Linked DNA regions of Homo sapiens: regions 1 and 2 are each linked to region 3. Evidence: promoter capture Hi-C in human tissues and cell types (Jung and others, 2019). All regions are on one chromosome and are shown on one strand. The core of a region is centred on a gene start or on the middle of the fragment in contact, and the rest is flanking DNA. Distances in the headings are between cores, read along the strand shown. Region 1 overlaps FOXL1 (forkhead box L1). Region 2 overlaps MTHFSD (methenyltetrahydrofolate synthetase domain containing). Region 3 holds the start of MAP1LC3B (microtubule associated protein 1 light chain 3 beta).

What was found. Contacts are between HindIII fragments. The study calls those that stand out against the background at their distance.
Region 1: a fragment that was not itself captured here is called in contact with the fragment with the promoter of MAP1LC3B in region 3 in 1 of the 25 tissues and cell types used here (dorsolateral prefrontal cortex).
Region 2: a contact is called between a fragment that was not itself captured here and the fragment with the promoter of MAP1LC3B in region 3, in 2 of the 25 tissues and cell types used here (liver and lymphoblastoid cells).

What each region holds. Positions count from the first base shown.
Region 1 is chr16:86,580,323-86,583,539 of GRCh38, forward strand. FOXL1 (forkhead box L1) reads left to right here. Exons shown (of 1, transcript NM_005250.3): 1 at 1-3,156. Among named protein-coding and RNA genes, the nearest start is that of FOXL1, 3.4 kb to the left of the region's middle. The HindIII fragment of the contact is 3,027 bases long and covers 92-3,118 here.
Region 2 is chr16:86,544,869-86,547,908 of GRCh38, forward strand. It overlaps MTHFSD (methenyltetrahydrofolate synthetase domain containing), which reads right to left. Exons shown (of 8, transcript NM_001159377.2): 5 at 1,691-1,781. Among named protein-coding and RNA genes, the nearest start is that of MTHFSD, 8.8 kb to the right of the region's middle. The HindIII fragment of the contact is 8,046 bases long and covers 1-3,040 here.
Region 3 is chr16:87,390,953-87,393,989 of GRCh38, forward strand. It overlaps MAP1LC3B (microtubule associated protein 1 light chain 3 beta), which reads left to right and starts at 1,384. Exons shown (of 4, transcript NM_022818.5): 1 at 1,384-1,515. The coding sequence starts at 1,476. It also overlaps a transcript of FBXO31 not described here. RefSeq lists enhancers at 342-1,300, 2,517-2,566 and silencers at 817-1,466, 1,487-1,656, 1,767-1,896. The HindIII fragment of the contact is 8,903 bases long and covers 1-3,037 here.

The DNA.
Region 1 (3,217 bases), core at 355-2,854, 810 kb before region 3:
GGTTTTCTGAGAGATGTAGGGCCCGATGAGGATTTATGACCAATGTTCAGCTATAGAAGCTGATAACCACCCAGAGCAATAACACTTTTATTTTAAACAGAGACTTTTTCTCTTAATTTCTTTCTGGGTAGTAAAAAGAACATGTTTCATTCTTTGCATAAATACTTGACTCTAAGCATTGACCTTTGAAAACGCTTGTATTAACAATTTTTATTAAGAAAGTGCACTCTATATAACATCTTCTTGCATTACGATAGCTCATTAGCCAATACACATGCAGCTATGTAAGCCACAACAGCAGACGTCCTATCCTTTTGCTTTTGTTTTTAAGGGATCAAAATATTTCAAGGGATACCATGAGGAAGGGTGTGAGGGGAAGGGGATATGCCTTGGACAATGTCAGAGTTTTGATTTCCATGTTTTTTCAAGATCCAGGCTTGGTGGTCGCTATATTTTTCAGAAACAGATAATGAAAGACTACATTTAATTTAAAAAGTTGGGTGAAACAACCAAAAGCAGATGCAGAGAGAGAGAGGGATGAATGCGGGGGAAGAATAAGGGGACGTGCTGGTGTCCGCTGGAAGGGGCCTCTCTGGGCCCCAGAGGACCTGAGGTTTGATGGCAGGAATCTCCCAGACACTCCTGGCCCCCGCACCCCCTGCAGCCGCCCGCTCTTCCCTCCCAGCCCTGCCAGGCAGGCCTGGAGGCTGATACTAAATCAAAACCTTAAAGAGGTGACTGGCAGTCTGGGGAGGGGAGAAGAGGTCTGCAACGAAAATCTAATTAAGAACATTGAGATGTTCACAACCAAGTTCAGCTTGCAGCTTCCGGGGAAATGCAACCGACCTCTATGCCATCTCTAGCTGGGTAATCTTCGAGGCCCTGAAATGCAATTTTCTGAACCTCTAAGTCACTTTTATTTTATGTCATGTGATAAAGACACAAGTAGTCACGCACTATTGGAAATAGGTTGGGAGGGAGGTCTTTAAGATCGCTTTTAAAATAGTTTCCAGGACTTGTCTAAAAATGATGACAAACTTTGAATCCAGAGGGCCTGTTGGTCAATGTGTTGGAAAGGACATTTCAGGCCGGCAGAGTAATTGGATAATTCACAGGCATAGAGGTGACTTTTGGAAAATTCATTCTCCTATCCATGCTGAACCAGGCTTCCACGACTGGGTTCTACCCAGGCCAGTGGGAAGACTCTGGGAAACTTCAGGCCAGCCTTGATTGGAAGAACTTCCAGGAGGAGCCATTGCTGAGATCCAGGCTCACTGTGATTCACTGAAAATGTAGCGAAAGGGCTGTCACTGGATATTTTGCTATCCCAAACTCTCAGCCTCTGTGAATAAAGTTGTTTTTTCATTAACCTCTCAGTGACTGGTTCAGTGGATTACTGGAGGGAAATAAACAAACAGTGTAATAAGAAAGAGGAGACTGGGATTATATCTGGGAGTCGTGTTAGCATCTCAGGAGGCTCTGGCTTCTGAGGGGTAAACACACAGATGGAGGGGAAGGAGTGGAGAGGATGCCGGGCCCAGGAAGCTGCCTCCATATCAGAAAGCACGATGAGTTAATTCTGCCGTATTGAATCGGTTTTTAATCTTTCCTTTTTCTTTTTTGTGTTTGTATGTTATCTTGGGAGGTTTTGTTAATTTGTGATGGCTATGTTTTGAAGAAGCAAATAATTTGATACTGCAGTTTTAAAAGGGTCGTATTTTAAAGTTACTATTCCAAAAAGTATTGTACGAATGTTACTTTTATGACACAGAAAAAATGCAGATGTATCCACTTTGTGTGTTTATACATGCATAAAGAGAAATTCTATTTAATCCCAACTTTTGTCTGGTTTAGAAAAGCTAAGACAAGTGGATACTGAGGTCGTTTTTATGTAATCTATATAATTGCATGTGTATTCCTTCCTCCTGAACCAAAAAGAGGAGGTTTGGGTCTTACCAATCCGAATAGCTGTTCTATTGATCCATATTTAATCGTTGGCTCAAAATTATGGCTCAATAAGGTCAATAGTTTCTGCTCTTAATTAAAACAAAATCTCAGCTATAATTAGGGTGAGCCAGAAGCAAGCTTATCATTGTACTCTTAGGCAATCTGAAGGAATACCTCTCTGCTCTCATCTAAACAAAGGGAACAGATCTGTCTTCTGTAAATGATCTTTGGTTCAAGCCCTGATTACACACACACACAAACAAATACCCACACACATATGAGTGCACTGATCATAATGAGGATATGGCAGGCACATGTTTGATAACAAAGTGTGTATACATATGTACACGTTTATATATATGTATATACATATATATACATGAATGTGTAGGGGTGTGTGTGTGTATTTGTTCTGTGTACATGAATGCTCATAAATGTATCTTTTTTGAATATACCTGAGACTCAGATCAAGTACTGAGTCCTTTCACTTTAACCCAAGTATTGATACTATTTGAAAGATTTTGTTTTTCTATATAGTTTTTAAAAATAGATAATAATTTCTATATAGCTTTAATAGTTTTGTTTCTCTATGTAGTATGAACCAGGGATAACTTTATTGTTCTGTGTTAGTATAGTGAAACTGACAGATTTTATTTAAACATCGCGGAAGACACCCGCTTTGAGAACTTTTCCCTCCGTTCACAAGGACAGAGAACTTTACAAAGGACTCTTGCTCTGCCTGGCCTCATCTAGTTGCTGGCTTTTCTAGAAACAAACGGCCTCCTGGGCCTCCAGTGAACCATAAGAGTTTTGAGAACCTGAATAGGACCTTCTTAGCCATTTTCAGATTTAATTGTGCCCGTTTGAATGGTGGTCTTCACCATTTCACTCAAAGTGGTGAGTGTATGCCCGTGTGTATGTTAAAGAATTAGCCACATATAATTATTGTTACAGCTGAAAGCCAGAGCCAGCCTGCCCAGACCCTGGCAGGTTAATGTTAACATCACAAAGGTAGGTGACGTTTCCAGTAACCAGCTGCACCCAGGAGTGAGAAAATAAGGGGAGAGCCATGATTTTGTGCACTTCCTGGCTTCATGGTGGATGGAGTCTTGTTTCCATGAAATAAAGGTTGTTTCATAGAATGAAAAACATAAATGATAAAAAGCAAAGTTTGTCCATTAAAAATAAAAAGCGTGAGTTTGTGGAAAAGTAAGATTCTTTTGACTCACATTTAAAGCAGTTTTTTAAATACACCTGAATAGCCACATGA
Region 2 (3,040 bases), core at 521-3,020, 850 kb before region 3:
TGCAGCCATAAAAAGGAATGAGAGCATGTCCTTTGCAGGGACATGGATGGAGCTGGAAAACATTATCCTCAGCAAACGAACGCAGGAACAGAAAACCTAGCACTGCATGTTCTCACTCGTAAGTGGGAGCTGAACAATGAGAACATATGGACACAGGGAGGGGAACAACACATACTGGGGCCTGTCAGGGCAGGGGCAGTGGGAGGGAGAACATCAGGTAAAATAGCTAATGCATGCTGGGCTTAATACTTAGGTGATGGGTTGGTAGGTGCAGCAAATCACCATGGAACACGTTTACCTATGTAACAAACCTGCACATCCTACACATGTATCCCGGAACTTAAAAAAAAAAGATATCTGTGTCTCACACGCATGCTACTATGTACAACGTCTACACTAGGAACTCCTAATGGGGCAGCTGGGAAGGAACAGGGAAGACTTATGGTGCAGCTTTCTGTGCTGTTCAATTTTCTAAGCAGACACATGGTTACTTTACTACTTTACACAGGGGGTTAGCTAAACGATGAAACTTACGAAGTGTTACTTTCTTCTTTATACATCCCTGAACCTGATGATATTTTCCAAGAGGGGACCTTTGCTGATTTCCCACCACCAAGAGCCCAAGTCCCATCATCTGGCCTCAAGGCTGCTGAGAAGGGGCCGCAACCTAGTAAAGGGCCTGCTGCCTGAGGACCCTTCAGTCCCCTCTGCCTGGACTGTGGCCGGCATGCAGGAGCCAGCCCTGAGGCCGCTACTGAGGAGATGCCCCCTCCAGGCTGGCACGTCCCTCCTCAGACTCCCCTTCCCCCTCCCGTCGGTCCTGACTTGTGTCCAGCACTGAGCACGTCACGTCCTGTCCTGGTCCAGCTCTCGTGTCTGGCCCACCCACACACCATGCACTTAAAGACCACCCAGTGCCTGCCTGGCACACAGCAGGTGTAGCAGGTATACCAGAACAGTGCGCTCCTGAGTCCCCAGCCCCGATGACACAGACGAAGCACCAGAAACTGGGAATGCACTGAAAGCAAAGAATAAAGAACAATGTCCCCACATCAGCTCCAGTGGTGGCTGGGAAAAGAGGGCACCCTGAAGCTGGAGACAGCAAGAGGTGGTGTGGTGACCCTGCCCTCTTAGCAAGGGCCCCCTGGCCTTGTGGACCGAGAGCAGCCTGCCTCACATGCAGCGTGGCAAAGCACCAGGCCTGAGAAGAAGTCTCGGACACACCACGTTGTTCAGGAGTCTCGGACACACCACGTTGTTCAGGAGTCTCGGACACACCGTGTTGTTCAAGAGTCTGCTGCTTCATAATAAAAACAAAGCTTGGAACCTACTGTTTTTCCATTTGCTGGAGTCCCTCCAAAACCAACTATTTACTGACATACTGAAAAGAAATTAAGCTCCAGCTCACTCAAGAACAGAGAGAAAACCTTTCACCACCTGAACAGAGAGTTATCTCACTTTGTTTTTCCTGCTAAGAAAAGTGAAAATGCTGTACACATGTTGGGCTGGGGCCAGAAGCGGGTGGGCTGAGCCAATTCTTCACCTCTGAAAAATGCAGCGGCTTCGGAGACCAGGTAAGCGCATCCAGAAAGCAGACACCACTGGCGACTTTTGAAAGACAAACAGCCTGGCACGCAGCCGCCTTCAGGCAGAGCTGTCACACTCAAGGGTTCCCATCTGCTAGTCTTACCTTTTTCAGAAACGGCGACGGATCCCACCACAACTAAATCCACGAGGACTCTGGAGTCCAAGCCTATGGGGACACTGTAGTTCCTCACACCCTGCACACAGAGATACGGATTGGAAAACTTCAACTCCAGCTGCTTCCTCATTTTATAATTCATGATCAAAGTGCACTCAGGGTTTGAATCAACCTCTTGGACAAAACAGATGCAGGCACACGCAACACCGGAGATGTGGCGTTTCAGGAGAAGCCGCATTCCAGAAACCGCTTTAGGGCACAGTTTCCCCAGTCTCTTTCCCAGAAAGGCGGCCAAGAGGAACTCACAGCACAAATTCATAGGCTGCCAACTTCATAACATTTAACAAATCGTTTTTCCCCATAAGGCAGAAGAGCACAGTGGTGAAAACACAGGGGCAGAGTCCCAGGGAACTGGGTTCAGAGCCTCTGAGCCACAGGTCCCCAGCAGGCTGGAGCTCTCTGAGCCTCAGTTTCTTCAGCTGTAAGACAGGGACACCACCCTCTGCCTCGTCGGACCAGTGTTGGAATTAAATAACAAAACGTATGCATTTAGCACATAAGACATGGTCAGTAAACACTGTATGACATATTTATTCAATATAAAATCCTGAAGGCCACTATCTTTATGTACAATATACTCGCTTCTAAAAAATTATCCCTTCAACCAAAATGTCCCAAAAGTGTACCGCTTTATACTAATGCAGGCATGCATATAAAGAATAGGGAAGCTGAATATGTTCATGGTTCTCATAACACGGTTTATGTAAGACTCAGGAAAAAGCCATTTTCAGTCCCGTATCCAGCAGTAACTGATCATTCGATGTGGCGGTGGGATCTGCCTGCAGTGCTATGACAAGTTCCGTATGGATCAGTGCATACGGGTGGCTTGGGGGTCTCCCGACAGTCACAGAAGGGGGCTTAGTCCAGGAAACCCTGCACTGCAGGAAACCCTGTGTTCTCATCATCTCGCAGGGTCCACGGGGGCAGGCACTGACCAACTGCAAAGGAAGAGACGGCTTGCATTTGTGAATGCTGACCATCACCATGCTTTCGTCTCAGTTTTCTATCTTTCTTTTTCCTTTGCTCCTTTCTCTCTCTATATATATATTTTTTACTTTATTGTATGTATTTTTAGAAACCATATCAAATTCTATTTTTGGAATAAGCAGGGTGCTAATAAGTAAACAATGAAACGTTCCAGTTTTATACATTAGGCTTAAGTGGCAAATCCCATAAAAAAGCGTATCTTCAATTGTCTTATTTTTTCTTCTCAGTAGATTAAAAATTAAATGACTTGGAGTTTACCTTAAGATTCTTAAAAAAGTCACCAAATTCGAC
Region 3 (3,037 bases), core at 134-2,633:
CAATTACTTTATCCAATTGGGATAGAAGAAAGGCTTTTACAAAGTCAAAAGGAGAAATCCTGGAACTATGGGGCTCTTTCAAAGTATTAGATGTTAAAGAACAAAAACAGCCAAATAGCCGGGAGCAGTGGCTCACGCCTGTAATCCCAACTCTTAAGGAGGCCGAGGCGGGAGGGTTGCTTGAGGCCAGGAGTTCAAGACCAGCCCGGGCAACACAGCGAGATCCCGGCTCTACTCCCAGCTTCTCGGGAGGCTGAGGCAGGAGGATCCCTTGAGCCCAGGCGACCGAGGCCGCCGCGAGCTATGATCGTGCCACTGCATTCCAGGCTGGGCAACAGAGCAAGACCCTGTCTCAAAAAAACCCCAAAGAATCTAGTGCTGTTCCTACAGAGACACATTGGCCACAGGCTGAGGTGGGCAATAGCAACCAAATATCGCATGGTGGTTTACGCACTGCAGCCCATTTGGAGTCCTCAAATATGACTGCCCTTTCACAGATGAGTCTGAGACTCAAAAACTGTCACTAGCGTAAGGTTGTCCAGCGAGTTTAGTGGCTGGGAGGCTGAGGGGTAGACAGGGCGGCTAGCGATGTGGGGCAGGCCTGGCAGTCGCCACAGACGACCTAACGGTAGGAAAATCTTACAGCCACCAGGAGAGTTCCAGGCGCCGCGGCAGGGGGACTGGGAGAGGGGACTGCGCCCAGAATGAAGGCTCGGGACAAAAGCAGTTGCGCAAACGCGCCAAGGCTGGGCGTCGAGTGACCGCGGGCGGAGGTCACCAGCGGCCACTCCCCGGAAGCCACCCACGGACCACGCGCGCCCCTGCACGCAGAGGGGGCCAGGGCTCCACGGGCGAGCGGCGACCCTGCCTCCCGGAGACGGCGCGGCCTGCCCTGCGCGCCTCAGCCCCGGGTGCCGGCGTCTCGGGCAGCACCACCAAGTCTCTCTGGAGGGGAAAGGATGGTCGGATTTGCCCCATGTCCCTTCCTCTGACCCCTCCCTCAAGAGTGCCCCGGGACACCCCGCCTGTGGCTCAGCCTCCCCCGCCCCGCGCTGCCATCTCCTCAGGGCCGGGCAGCAGGCTCCCGAGCGCCCACAGACCCGGGGTGCGGCCCAGCCCACAACCGTCACCTCAGGGGCCTCAGGCGCCCAGCGGTGCTGGGCGGGGCTGGGGCACGACCGGGAGCATGCGCAGAGCGCGCGTTTCGCCCATCGCGCACGCGCACACACCTGCTCCGCCCCCACGCTGCGTGCCGCTGCTGGGTTCCGCCACGCCCGTCATGGCGGCGGCCCCGGCCGGCTCTGGCCCCGCCCCTCGGTGACGCGTCGCGAGTCACCTGACCAGGCTGCGGGCTGAGGAGATACAAGGGAAGTGGCTATCGCCAGAGTCGGATTCGCCGCCGCAGCAGCCGCCGCCCCCGGGAGCCGCCGGGACCCTCGCGTCGTCGCCGCCGCCGCCGCCCAGATCCCTGCACCATGCCGTCGGAGAAGACCTTCAAGCAGCGCCGCACCTTCGGTGAGTGTCGCCGCGAGGGCGGCGGGTGCGGCGGGGCCGGGGTCCGAGCTGTGGAGGGCGGCAGGGCCTGGGACGCCGTGAGGGGTCGGGGCCGAGCCGGGAGGCCGAGCGGGGCCGGTGGCTGCCGGCCGGCGGGGCCGAGGGATGCGGGGCCCGGGGCCCCGTGAGGGACCCAGGCCGGGACCGAGCCGGGAGGGCCAGGGGCTGGTCTGGGCCGGGGCGGCCTGCGGACCTCTCGGAGGCCTGGGAGGAGGCAGCCGGCGGAGGGCGGGCGGGGGCCGGTGCGCTCGGGGCCCCGGGCCTGCTGAATCACCCCGCGCCCTCCGCGGCGGGGTGCCTGCCGTACCCCGGCCACCGCCGCCCCCGCAAGCGCGCTGCGGGCGAGGGTCGCGCTTCTGGGGCCCAACAGCCCCCGGGGCCGCGCTGGGCCGTTCGGCTCTGAAGCGGGGCTGCGCCGGGACCCAGCGCGTCACCTTCAGGGCTGGTTTTCCCGTCGAGGGAGCCCGCCCGGGTGCGAGTGCCTCTTACAGACCTCAGTGCCTCGGTCGAGAGGAGGGGAATGTGCTGGGCCCCGGCCTCGCCGCGCCCGGGACGGCCCACAGCGGTGTTGCCAGTTCCTGTCTGTAGCCCAGGAGCTGGGGTGGGAGACTTCTCTTGGGTTTGCGATTACGTTCTCACCTTGGCACCAGGAATACCGAATACATCCCTTTTCTGCCGGTTCAGACTGGAAACCCAGCTTAGGTGTGCTGGCATTTGGTTAAACGTGCAGGTGTCACCATCACAATATTTACTCCACGCAGATGATGCGAAGTGATTATTTCCCGCTTGAGCAAGAGAACGCCGCAGATCCAGGTATCTGTTGTTGCCTAAGTTCCAGACACCGGTTTGGAAGGGAAGCACCGTGTTCATCGCGGTGGACTGCGAATGCCTGCCGCCATCCTCGTCAGGAGCCCACACAGTGGTGCTGTTTGTCTGCTTTTGCCTAGTTTCCCGGAGTCTAGAAAGAGTTTAGCATTCATTTGAGTTTGGATATAGTTTTGCAGGTCTCATTGACCATTATTTTTTTTCTTATGCCTGAGAAACTTAAGCAAATTAAAATGGACCTTAGCTTGCCAAGCATATCTTTTCAGACAGCCTCTTGAGGCAGTCCGTTGGTTAGCAAGACTTACACGTGCCTTTTTTGTTAGTAGTTTTCTTGTTAGTCACCTTAATGAACTCTTTACTGTAGTGTCTAGGCTTATTGAGCCCTGAGAGCAGCATTAAAGACAGATTTTCTTTTCTTTTTTATTTTGAGACAGGGTCTCACTCTGTCACCTGGGCTGGAGTGCAGTGGTGCAATCACAGCCCACTGCAGCCTCGACCTCCCGGGCTAAAGCGATCCAGCGGCCCCCCTCAGACCTGGCTTCTGTTTTCACCAATGAAAAGTTAACTGGGAACATTTATGTAGGAGAGATGCCCTTTTTCTCATAACAGAAACTATAGTTATTTTCTTTTTTGCTTAGTACTTTTGGGTTATTCTGGA